2 separate regions of the Homo sapiens genome follow, and region 2 is linked to region 1. The links are contacts of gene promoters, found by promoter capture Hi-C in blood cells and fetal thymus (Javierre and others, 2016). All regions are on one chromosome and are shown on one strand. Each heading gives the region's core, a stretch centred on a gene start or on the middle of the fragment in contact. The rest is flanking DNA. Distances are from core to core; before and after follow the strand shown.

What was found. The method cuts DNA at HindIII sites, captures the fragments that hold promoters and counts their contacts. A CHiCAGO score of 5 or more calls a contact.
Region 2: the fragment with the promoter of PSMA2 here is called in contact with the fragment with the promoter of NUDCD3 in region 1 in 8 of 17 cell types (non-activated CD4 T cells, fetal thymus, total CD8 T cells and 5 more); the score reaches 13.6 in non-activated CD4 T cells.

Annotation. Positions count from the first base shown.
Region 1 is chr7:44,487,169-44,493,437 of GRCh38, forward strand. NUDCD3 (NudC domain containing 3) reads right to left here and starts at 3,490. Exons shown (of 6, transcript NM_015332.4): 1 at 3,241-3,490. The coding sequence starts at 3,432. RefSeq lists silencers at 3,072-3,241, 5,307-5,433. The HindIII fragment of the contact is 1,642 bases long and covers 2,231-3,872 here.
Region 2 is chr7:42,930,854-42,937,107 of GRCh38, forward strand. PSMA2 (proteasome 20S subunit alpha 2) reads right to left here and starts at 1,321. Exons shown (of 8, transcript NM_002787.5): 1 at 1,265-1,321. The coding sequence starts at 1,305. MRPL32 (mitochondrial ribosomal protein L32) reads left to right here and starts at 1,523. Exons shown (of 3, transcript NM_031903.3): 1 at 1,523-1,663; 2 at 4,102-4,283. The coding sequence starts at 1,534. RefSeq lists an enhancer at 1,472-1,701. The HindIII fragment of the contact is 5,414 bases long and covers 1-1,621 here.

The DNA of each region.
Region 1 (6,269 bases), core at 2,240-4,739:
ATAAAATGGAATGCAATTTTCACATACATCATTCCTGCTGAGGTTCTTCAAGCTGTGTATCCAGGCTATGCAAACTTTTAAAAGGAAACGTATGAGCTGCCTAACTCTACACCAACACTGTACTCCCCAAAATATTAAGGGAACGCTTTGAAGTTCCACAATGATGCAGCCCAGCACTCCCATCCAAATTCTTCTCTGCCTATATTCAGCAGAGACACCAAGCATCCCACATCTGGTGGGGGTGGAGAGGCAGACCCCAGGAAGGAGTCTTATGCCATCAAGTTAGGGACAGAAAAAAAAAAAAACCCTAAGAGGCAGATGAGTAGGAGTGGGGAGGTCAGGAGATCACCTACTACCACGAAGAAATAATGTTATGCTGGTACCAAGTCACTCAGTCTCATTCAGTGTTGTCCCACCCCACAATAAAACCCTTGTCAATACTGAAATCACCTTTACAAACCTCCTGTCAAATGAGCTTTTGTGGATAAAAGAACAGGTTCCAGCCAGGTGCAGTAGCTCATGTCTGTAATCCCAGCACTTTGGGAGGCTGAGGCGGGTGATCACCTGAGGTCAGGAGTTCAAGACCAGCCTGGCCAACACGGTGAAACCCCATTTCTACTACTAAAAATACAAAAATTCTCTAGGCATGGTGGTACATGCCTGTAAACCCAGCTACTCGGGAGGCTGAGGCAGGAGAATCACTTGAACCTGGGAGGAGGAGGTGCAGTGAGCCAAGATTGCGCCACTGCACTCCAGCCTGGACAACAGAATGAGACTCCATCTCAAAAATAAAAAATAAAAAAATAAAAAAAAGAACAGGTTCCCAGGATTCACCCTGATCTACCCAACCAAAATATCCAGGAATATGTGCTTTTAAAAGTTCCTTGGCCAGGCGCAGTGGCTCACACCTGTAATCCTAGCACTTTAGGAGGCCGAGGCAGGCAGAACACAAGGTCAGGAGTTTGAGACCAGTCTCGCCAACATGATGAAACCCCATCTCTACTAAAAATACAAAAATCAGCCGGGCGTGGTGGCGCACACCTGCAGTCCCAGCTACTCGAGAGGCTGAGGCAGGAGAATTGCTTGAACCCAGGAGGCGGAGGTTGCAGTGAGCTGAGATCATGCCACTGCACTCCAGCCTGGGCGACAGAGTGAGACTCCATCTCCAGGAAAAAAAAAAAAAAAAAAAGAAAGAAAAAAGTTCCTTAAGCGATGCTGATGGTTGAGAACCACTTCCAGAAAACATGACACCTCTCTTAAGCATCTGCTGGAGACTGTTGTCCCCTTGGTTTCTGTGAAACTTATTGCTCTCCACCAAGATTATTCCCCAAGGCCTGTTCTTCACCTTTGGCTCTTCTCTCTCCCTCGGACCACTCCAGTTGCTCTAGCTCCCAAAAGATCTAGTCCAGTAATTCCAATAGCCTATGGGCAGGGACTCCTACCTGCAACTTCAAGTTCAACCTGTCTAAAACTGAACTTTTTCCCCTAAACCCAGGTGACAGTTCAGTTAACGCATTATCACTATTCCAGTCACCCAAGTTGAAACCTTGGATCATCTTTGACCCATCCCTCCCCTTCCTCCATCCCTGCTCCCCATCTCCACTACTTCATTAGACTGGTCACCAAATCCTAACCTATGGAAGTGTCTTGTAAGAGGTGTTACCAGGTAAATGAGTTACCAGGTTAATGAGTGCTCTGTCAGTTCATCTGTGAAACAAAGACCAACCTCTCAGGTTATATTAAGGGTTAAATAAGATAACGACCCCAGAATATAAAACATCTGATACTATACATATTACTCAGTATATACTCCTTTCTCCTCCACATCTTTCTGCAAACTACAATCAATCTAGACAAAAGTGTTCTCATCCTACTATGGAATGGTTAAACAACAGAACAGGAAGATTTGGAATCCACAAAATGAAATTTTTAGTTTCAGCTCTACGGTGAACTGGCTGTGTGTTCTTGGTCAAATCACTTAACCTTGCTGAATTGGTACGTAAACTTGAAACTTATCTGTTTCACAGAGACACTGAAGATCAAATGGCAAGACTTCATTAACCTGCCATAAGATCCTGCTAAAGGCCACCTCCAACAGCTCTCTCATCACTAAGATGGCACTTATGCCACTGACAAGGACGAGGAATAGCCTTAAGTTCTGAAATTGAATCCTAATGGAACCCCATTCCTCGTTTGGCCCTATTACCCTGGTAGCTACCAAGACATTCAAAGCTTTGGCTTCTGCTGAGGAAAGTAACATCTTACCAACCTGCAGCATGCATTAAGACTTCAGGAGGAAACATCTGAAGCATTTTATAAACTGTAACATCTAGAGAACTGAGGGAGGTATCATCAGCATTTCTATCTTCTTGGGTTTCTACAAATAGGCTTAATACTTGGCTGAATAGTTTCTTTTAATCTCATCAGAAGTCCCACCTCTCTTATAAAAACTTCACTTCTCAACCATCATTTCTATTTCCTTTCTTTACAATGGGCTCCATCAAATAATTGCCCTTAAAAAGTTTTCTATTACTTTCTGGGTTTTCTCTCTTTAACTGTGTCACAAGGAGAGAGAAACCATTACTTAAACACCCGTATCACCCTCACCTGCGGCAACTAAGAGTGTAAACTACATTCAGCAAAAGGTTGCTTACCACTACATTCAAAAGTGCCCAGTCAACTTCACTGAATGAGTATTGACAGCGTTTCCAACATACAATAAACTTAACCTGGAGGGTACGGAATTAAGCTCAAATAGAAATTTTAATAAGCACTACATTGACAGTCTTTGACCTGGGAAGTCACATTTCAAACAAGCGACCACACCCATTGATCAACACAATGCCTCCGTCATCCCCGCCAGCTCAAGTCTTTGGTAGTTCTGGGGCATGCACGTTTCTGTTGCTGTAAATGTCCTTCCTTCTGTCTGGCCTGCATGGATTTCGCTCCCTGACTAGCGGCCCCCAGCACCGTGAGGGGTACGCGCTGGCGGGTGCTGAGTAGGGCTCTTAACAGTCGGCTTACTACTTCTGAAACCTCAGGACGTCCGGAGCGAACACCTCAGCGGAATAAGCTGACATCCAATCCGCGCTTCAAATTACTGAAGCCATTCTCACAAGCTCAACCCCAGGACACCAGGAAAAGGAGGAAACAGGCTGGGAGAGCTTGGAGGAGCGGGCGCCAGGAGTCAGGGCAGGCCGGGGGCGGCGGCTCCCCAGACCGCAGGCCCGCCCGCCTCACCTGCAGCACCAAGGCCTGCGCGGCCCCGGGCGGGAAGCCCATGCGGTCCGATGGGTGGCGCAGCAAGCGATAGAAGTCTGTCTTGCGGTAGAGGAAGCCAAAGAGAACGCGCAGGAAATCCTGGACGTTGCCCACGTGCTGCAGGATGCCCAAAAGGGCCTGGTCATACAGCTCGGCCGCCCCTGTCTCCATGTCGCCTCCCGCCCTAGGTACGCTTCACACACACAGCGCCGCCTCAGACCTGCCGACTGGCCACTTCCGGCGTCCGCAGCCAACGGCTCCGCCGGACGGCGCGGCTGCGGAACTTCCGGTCCGTGCTCGTTCGGCCCCCGCGGCCCCGGGCTGTTTTCCCCAGACCCAGCTGCCCCACGGGCTTTGCCTTGAGGTGGTCTTAGACAAAAGAGCCCGACAAGGGCAGCAAGGAGGTTCCTACGCGGAAGGAAGCCCGTGGCTTCTGCTGCGCTGCGAGGGCTTGACCGCCATGTTTGAAGCGGGCGGAAAAAAATTATGGGGCGTGCAGTGTCACGTGACTGCTCGGATTTTTGTCACGTTGTCTGTGGATCCTTTCTTATTTCTGTGTTGAATTCCAGCCTGGGTATTTGGAACCTATGGTTAAAGATGGGGCTAGGGTAAGCTTTTTGTTAGTGAGCCAGAGACGGGAAAATGCGTATATGTGGGATGTATGGGTTTCTTATTAACAGATCTGTGAGTTAAACTCAGGGCGTTGCATCAGAAGAAAGTCAAGATGACGAAGAAAATAAAGAGTGCATTCAACGTATATTAAGTGGAAAGAGCTAGATTCAGAATAGAGAATCCGTATGCCATCGTTGTGAAATATGTACGTGTATGTGTGTGTATAGTATGTATATACATATATACGTCATATATACATATGTTGTTAGTGTCTGTCAAAGTATAATCTTAAAAAAGTAAAAAGCATGACACTCATACAAATATATCATGAACACATATCCAAGATTTCTTCAGCAAATTAACAATGATATGGTAAAGCTGGTTCAAAAGCATTTTGAGGAAGTGGAGATTAAACATTTTGACAAAGCATTAGAGTAAGATTAGGTTGGATACAAAGCTGGCTGGTGTTCTACAAGATGATAAAACCATAGATTATCATTTCTAGTGTATAGAAATGATTTGCACCTCTTCTAGATTAAAACATGCAAGTTAACATGTCTTCATAGTGTATAAGCTTTAATGAATTGTAAATAAAATCCAACTCAGGTAAATTGCCCTAGAACAGTGGTTCTGAAACTCTTGATTTAGGGACCATTAATCCTCTTAAAATTTGTTGAACATTCCAAAGAACATTTGTTGATATGGGTTATGCTTATCAATATTTACCACATTAGAAATTAAAACATAAAATGTTTAAATATTTATTTAATCATTTTTAAATGACCATAAAACACATTACATGTTAACATACTTTTATGCAAAAAATAATGTTCTTCAAAGCAATAAAAGTTCAGTGAGAGGAGTAACATAGTTTTACATTTTTGCAAATCTCTTTAATGAGCCTACTAGAAGACAGCAAGATTTGGCCGGCACAGTAGCTCATGCTTGTAATCCCAGCACTTTGGGAGGCCGAGGCGGGAGGATCAGGAGTTCGAGACCAGCCTGGCCAACACAGTGAAACCCTGTCTCTACTAAAAATACGAAAATTAGCTAGGCGTGATGGCAGGTGCCTGTAATCCCAGCTCCTCTGGAGGCTGAGGCAGGAGAATCGCTTGAACCCGGGAGGCAGAGGTTGCAGTGAGCCGAGATCACACCACTGCATTCCAGCCTGGGCGACAGAGCTAGACTCCGTCTCCACAAAAAAAAAGAAGACCACAAGATTCTCACATCTGCATTCACTGCAACATAATTTGCATTATGTTGTTTTCATTGAAGTATATGAAAACATGCAACCTCACACAGACAGTTGCAAATGAGAGGAATATTTTGTCTTTTCAAATAAATGTGGCTATTTGTCTTTAAAATGACATCAAAATTCTTCTACAAGCGATAGTTTCTATTTTTTTTATTTTTAAGAGGCAGGGTCTCCCTCTGTCACCCAGGCTGGAATGTAACGATGTGATCATAACTAACTGTAGCCTTGAACTCTTGAACTCAAGCAATCCTCCTGCCTCAGCCTTCTGAGTAGCTGGAACTACAAGCACATGCCACTGTGCCTGGCTAATTTTTAAATTATTTTTATAGAGACGAGGTTGGGCCTACATTGTTCAGGCTGGTCTGAAACTCATGGGCTCAAGCGATCCTCCCCTCTCAGCCTCCCAAAGTGCTGGAATTATAGGTGTGAGCCACTGCACCCAGCCCTGTAACTGGTAGTTTCTTAAAGGTTACTTGCCATATGGAATCTAAAACTGTATCTATAGACTTTTCATACTCTGTTACATTAATATCGATTGGTCTTTCACTTTGAATGGATCGTTAATAAATGCATGATTTTATACCATCATGTATTAATTAGTCATTTGAAAATGTTGGTCCACTGTGTTATGCAGCTCTTCCAAATGTTCACTCGTTTTATGCAACGAGCATATCTTGCCCCCAGATCTTGGTTTCTAATATCATTTCATTATATAATATCAAAAAATAACATTTGTTAGAATTACCACTAAACTCATCAGAGAAGTCTGTCTTTATTGACAAGCACTCAAGCTCATGGAAGCGGGATATGGGTTTTTTGAATTCTAATTTTAGCTTAAAAACTTGAACTTTATTATTGGAAGTAGATACAATCAATTATTTTCCTTGAAGAGACAGGCTCACTTCATTCTGTCATTCAAGTAAAAATGATGCTCTGTGACTTGTTCAATTGGCAACTCAATCACACAAGTGCTTTGCATCAGTGCAACCATTTTGCTTCAGTATGAGGCAGACATGTCTTATGTGTACTTCTCTTTTAATCATGCACTATTAAAAAGACTTGTTCTCAAGTGGAGAACTTTTAATAAAACAACTTTTAATAAAATTAATAATTAAATGCTATCAGGAGCATTCTTAAGTGA
Region 2 (6,254 bases), core at 71-2,570, 1.6 Mb before region 1:
TAGGAACAGTGAATACATCCTGCACACACTATTCTGTCATATGTAATATAATGAGACCTTTTATTGCATAATTAAATTAATCTCGTTCAAAGGTTACAAAAAAACTATTACATACACCCACTGCTTACTGAAAACTGCCAAGAGAAAAGTACTTTTGGAATTTAAGACAACGTTATGTAATGGAAAGTGTATTTTTGTTATCAGAAAAAAAACCCAGTTTGAATGTCAACTCAGCTACTCACCGATGACCTTAGACAAGTTGTTTAATTTGTACAAGCTGCGGTTAGTTCATCTGTAAGAAGCTGAGATAACATTCATTATAGCAGTGGAAAGAGATGGAGCAGGTTAAGGTTAAGTTGCACCTAACAAAGTACTCAACAAGTTAGATCCCGCCTGCCTTCAGTTGTCAGGAGTACATTTTAAGTAAACTGGGCATTACTGATCCTTAAGAAAATGGGTAAGTCAGAAAACTTCCCCAGTCAATTTTTAAAAGTCTTCGGCGATGGTTTTCTCACGTTGAGAGCCATGGTTCGCCCCAACTGTATTTTGGAAAGTAAACTTATTATTCTAATCCCCTTTTCTACAATAGAAAAACCTACAATCTTGTTTAAAGTAAACATCCCCCTCCCCGACGTTCCCCCCAGTCCACCAAAAAAAGACCAAAACTCAAACTTGCCTCGTTGTTAGGGGTTCACAAAAAAGTGATAGGGGCTTTCGGTTTTTAGTCCTTATGTTTCTAATTCGTGCATCGAAGAAACCGAAAGCGGGAGGTTTTGAAAGACACTAGTGCCAAATGGAGACCAAGACTCCGACTTAACTGTAAAGCTGAGAGTTTTCCAAGAAAAGGGAACCCCACATATTTGACCAAGATTCCAAGTTTCAGAAACCACCGCATCAGGTCTACTTGAGCCAGGAAAAAAATCCTGAGTTCGGAACGGGCCACCCAGAGATGGTTAAGCTAAAACTGCCTTCTTTTCTGGTCTCCAAAGTGAAAGCGAATCCTTGGCTATGTGCCTCACCGTCCCGCAGCCCCATGTTAACCCCGCAAAACCGCATCCCCCCGACCCTCCAGCAGCCTCCGACCAAGGAAGCTCCAGGAATCCCGGGTCGGCCTGGCAAATGACTTTGCAAAGCCGCATTTCCAACTCCATTCCCTACTGGACCCTCCAGAAGCACCAATGCCGACGTCAGGATGGGAAAAACTAAATCGACAGAGTACCAGCAACCTCGACTACGCTGAAGACCTCGAGGGCCCCTTCCATACCTGAATGTAGTCAGCGAAAAGCTGTACCCGCGCTCCGCCATCTTTACCCGAAGAGCCAAAGCACAGCCGCACACATGCGCACTGTGGCCGATTTCCTTTCATTTCCCCGCCCCTCACCTTTCCTTTACTCTCTATGATTGGAGGAGAGTCAGAGCTGCTCCAAGAGCATGCGGGGTGTTGTAGTTCTAAGAAGCGAGGCTTGCCCGATTCTGTGCCTGTGCGCATGCTGAAAGCAGGGGCGGGACCGGGGCGGTCTTCCAGCAGGGAAAATGGCGCTGGCCATGCTGGTCTTGGTGGTTTCGCCGTGGTCTGCGGCCCGGGGAGTGCTTCGAAACTACTGGGAGCGACTGCTACGGAAGCTTCCGCAGAGCCGGCCGGGCTTTCCCAGTCCTCCGTGGGGTAGGTAAAGAAGGGCTCCGTGGGAGAGGGGGCTGATGACGGGACCTCGGGCAGCGTAGCAGACGCAGCTTACACAGTTCGCCCTCAGCCCCGGTTCTGATCCGCGGCCTCATGTCGGGGACGTAGTTCGTGACATTCCCATATTAGCGAGAACAGAACGACTGTTTTTGCGCTCCCTCCACCGCAAAAAAAAAAAAAAAAAAATTCCTCTGCTTGTTCCATTCGTACACAGAATGTAACCCAAGCTTGTGTCAAAGATAAATCATAGCCAGCCAGTAAGTAAAGCGCTGAAAACAGATTTTATTCAGTAACTACTGCAGGTAAAGAGCTGAGCTCCATCCCGGTTTGTGCAGAGGTGACTTTGGGCGTTTTAAAGGGAGAATGAGCGAGGCGGGAGTGTAGGGGCTCTGTAGAGTCAGAGAAGTGTAGTATAGTGAAGTCAGTGCAAATGTGATTAGCCGGCTGTGTCTGCTAGCTCGCAGTTGTCTTAGGGAGAATTCTATCCTCCCGCAGAGACTGGGAGACAAAGGCCCTATCCTTCCTAATGATTAGATTTCGAAGGAATGGCTCTCAGGGCCTTGAAAGAAAAGCTTCCGAGTTAGTTGCAAGGGATACGTATTTACAATTATATGCCCTTTCCAGGAAATGCTCTAAGGGAGTTCGGGACCTACTATCGGGGTATGTTGGCCAAAATAAATAGGAAATTTTCCAGGCAGCGTTGAGCTTTCTCAGGCAGGCACTTTAAAGGGGGGGCCGAGGTCATCCTAGGATACAGCCTTATGCTGCTAGAAACTATGCTAGAGTTTGGTCAAGTCTGTGGAGTTCAGGGATTTGTACAGAGTTGTCCTGAGAGGACAGTTCTGCAGGTCTCACTTGGCATCAAGGCTCACCACTCTCTGGATCTGTCTTTCCTTTCCAGCCCTGCCCTCACCTCCCCTCCCGCTTCCCCTCTCCCCCCTCTCCTCTTCCCTTCCCTTCCCTCCCTTCTTTCCTCCCTTCCTCCCTCCCTCCCGCGCAGTACATGTTTTCTGTGGTGTTTGAGCTCTGAGGAGCTGAATTCTGTTTCCCATGTTTCACTTGGAATTAATTTTAATTGGAAGTATCTTGGATGTTGAAACTGTCATGGCTTTGGCATTTACATTCTACTCAATTTCTAAGCAGCCTGAAAGTGATAATATCCAGAAATATACCAAGAAAATATATGCCACTATATGCCAAGCAATGTGCCAAGCTTTCTACATGTACTTCCTGGGATAATCTTGACAACAGTCCCATTAGGTGTATACACTTTCCAACTGAAACAGTAGGCTCACAATGGTCCCAAGTTCACAGACAGTCCTGAGCCTGTGTTGTTAATCACCGGGGCATGCTTGGCAATACTTGTGGACATACTGAAAATAAATGCCAGTTGTTAAGTGTTAGAGAACTTTGTGTATTTTTAAGAGTTCTTAAGATCAAAAGAAGTATGTGGGCTGGGCGCGGTGGCTCACACCTGTAATCTCAGCACTTTGGGAGGCCAAGGTGGGTCCATCACCTAAGGTCAGGAGTTCAAGACCAGCCTGGCCAACATTGTGAAACCCTGTCTCTACTAAAAATACAAAATTAACCAGGCGTGGTGGTGCACACCTGTAATCCCAGCTACTTGGGAGGCTGAGGCAGGAGAATCACTTGAACCAGGGAGGCGGAGGTTGCAGTGAGCCGAGGTCACGCCACTGCACTCTAGCCTGAGTGACAGAGTGAGACTCAGTCTCAAAAAAAAAAAAAAAAAGTATGGCACGTCTAAGAAATAGCAAGGAAAGGGTAAAGGAATGTTGATTTTATAAGCAATTCAGAAAAAGAGAAACTTTGATAGTCACATAAATAAGGCCATACAGAGAAATGGTGAGCTGGCTCTTTTCTTTAGAGAGCAGACAGGAATCAAGATTAAATGTTATGAGGAACTAAGTGACTTAAGAGGTTGTATCATAAAGGACCTGACTCAGTTTGAATATAAGAAAAGGCAATTGGCAGTTACATCAGTGCCGGTCAGAAGTGTATTCAGGAAATCTGTCTAGATTTACTTGTAAATTAATCAGGTACTTACTACCCGCCAAGTATTAATAGAATGTGGACAGTTGAGTGATTCTTTGCTTGTTTTGTTCAAGTTAGGTGCCTATCAGAGTCCTGTATTTTATGAGATAAGAAACTTGATGGAATTTCACTGATCTTCTTTTCAGCAGGATCCGCTAAGAAAAAATTCTGTGTTCCTTAAAATTGTATAAGCTTTAGTGTATTTTAATAGCTAAGGTTTCTCATTATTGAGTTTCACATTCTAAATTTTATATATAGTTTTTGTGTGTGTGTATGTTTGACCATTGATTGTTAAGGAAAATGATATCTGTAAATAGTAATTTAGAAGCTAGAAACTAATTCTGTATCTCTTATGTTTTATTTCCTAGGACCAGCATTAGCAGTACAGGGCCCAGCCATGTTTACAGAGCCAGCAAATGATACCAGTGGAAGTAAAGAGAATTCCAGCCTTTTGGACAGTATCTTTTGGATGGCAGCTCCCAAAAATAGACGCACCATTGAAGTTAACCGGTGTAGGAGAAGAAATCCGCAGAAGCTTATTAAAGTTAAGGTAATGCATTGATTTTTGTGGGTGTGCTTTTCCTCAAGTCCTCCATTGAATAAGCTCATGGTAGATTCCTATAGCCTAGGAATAAATTATTATCAGATTATATGTGTCTACTTTCCTCTGGCCTAAATGAAATACAGTATTCTCATTATATACATAATGAGAAGGCTAGAGCCTGCTGTCCTCTAGCCTGAGTATTAGAAACACAGTCAAGGAAGGAGTGAGTTTGGAGACTGGGCAAGGAACGAGGCTGTGAGGTGCCTACATGACTTCTGAATTGTGAGCTGTGTCAGTCTTGAGCTGTGTGAGTTTTGAACTACAGATGAGTAAACATCCTAACTATGGCAGAGCCTAGAATTAAAGCTAGAAGCAGTAGGTATACTGAATCTTGGGTTTTACAAGCCCTTACATATTTGTTTTATTTTTTTATCATTTCCAACAAAATACCATGAAGGAAAACCCTAAGATAAGTAATATAATAGCTAACAACAATTAAGTGTCTATGATGTATCTCAGTGCCTTATGTTTATTATATCTCATCATGTCTTATAGCCCTCCAAAGCAAATAAGATATTCTTCATTATTAGGATGAAAAAACTGAGGCAAAAAGAATTTGCCTGTGGTCACACAGCTATGAAGCAGTAGATTTTCGAGCTCTGATTTTTGACCTCATGTTCTTTTAAAGATTTTCTTTGTGTTCTCCTATCCTCAGACAATTTCAGATTCTCCTCGCTGACAACATGGATGTACTGTCTTCATTGATCTAGTAAAGAAAAATTACAGTGTGTATTACCTCTGATCTGTTCATGTATGGTTTTAACAGTTAGGATTTCAGTTACTGTTTACTTCATGGCGTTCCACAACAGCAGCACCATACAGATGAAACTCGAGAACAGAAAGCTGACTTTCATAAGCATCCACATTCTGTTAAGCAAAACCTTAGAACTTAAGCCAGAAAGTATTATTGAGTGATGGTTGGGGCTGAACTTAAATGTAGAACTGAAAAACACTTTATTACTTAAGACTTACAGTAATTCATAAATTTGCTCAAGAGGACGTAAGATTTTAGGAATGAGATCTTGCACTGATCTATTATGTGACTTCCCTGATCGCATTTATTCTGAAGGAATAGTTCTTATCCTGTGCATTTATTTTCTTCCTTGAATTATTTTCTGTTACATACGGTATATAGTGTGTTATGTTGGGTACTTTGATCACGAAAGGAAGACCAGCTGACTGTGGGTGTCTTCATACCTTCAGTTGTGCATGCAATCCAGTTTCCAGTAGTGGAGCAAAATGAGAATATGGTTAGGCAAGTAATATACAAGCCTCTTTCTTCCTTTCAGAAAAGGAAATTCTTTTGTTATCTGCCTCACAAATGTTAGTATATTAATCTTATCAAGTGTTTAAAGCTTCTTTAATGATCCTGTTTAGTATTTTTCTTTGTATTTTCTTTCAAACCTACATCTAGAATAAGTTGATAAATCTTTTAGAGGTTATAATGTTTCTATTTTATATTTAAAGTTGGAGATATATATATATCTATATCTATCTCTATATATATATATATACACACACATATATATATCATTAAAATACCCTAAGAATGTAACATAGAAAATAATTTTACATTAAGGAATAATCAGTGTTCATTTTTAAAAAGAAAAATTATACCATATACGAAACCTGTATTCTGTACAGGAATTTGAATTACACTGTGATAAAAAGAGGAAGCCAAGGAAGTCAACTTGTAATGTTCTTATCTTGTTTTCCCTAAGATAGATTGAAAGACAAAGGGAATTCACTTTTCCTTGGTGTCTTATTTAAGATGCTGATTGTTTGGGTCACTTCATTATGTTGACAAATTCCTTATTTGATATTTAGTATTTGGAGTTAGGGGAAATGAGTATTTCTTTTTTCTTTTTTACATAACTACAACTGCTGTGTTTAAGTAAAGATACCAGATTCAGGTTG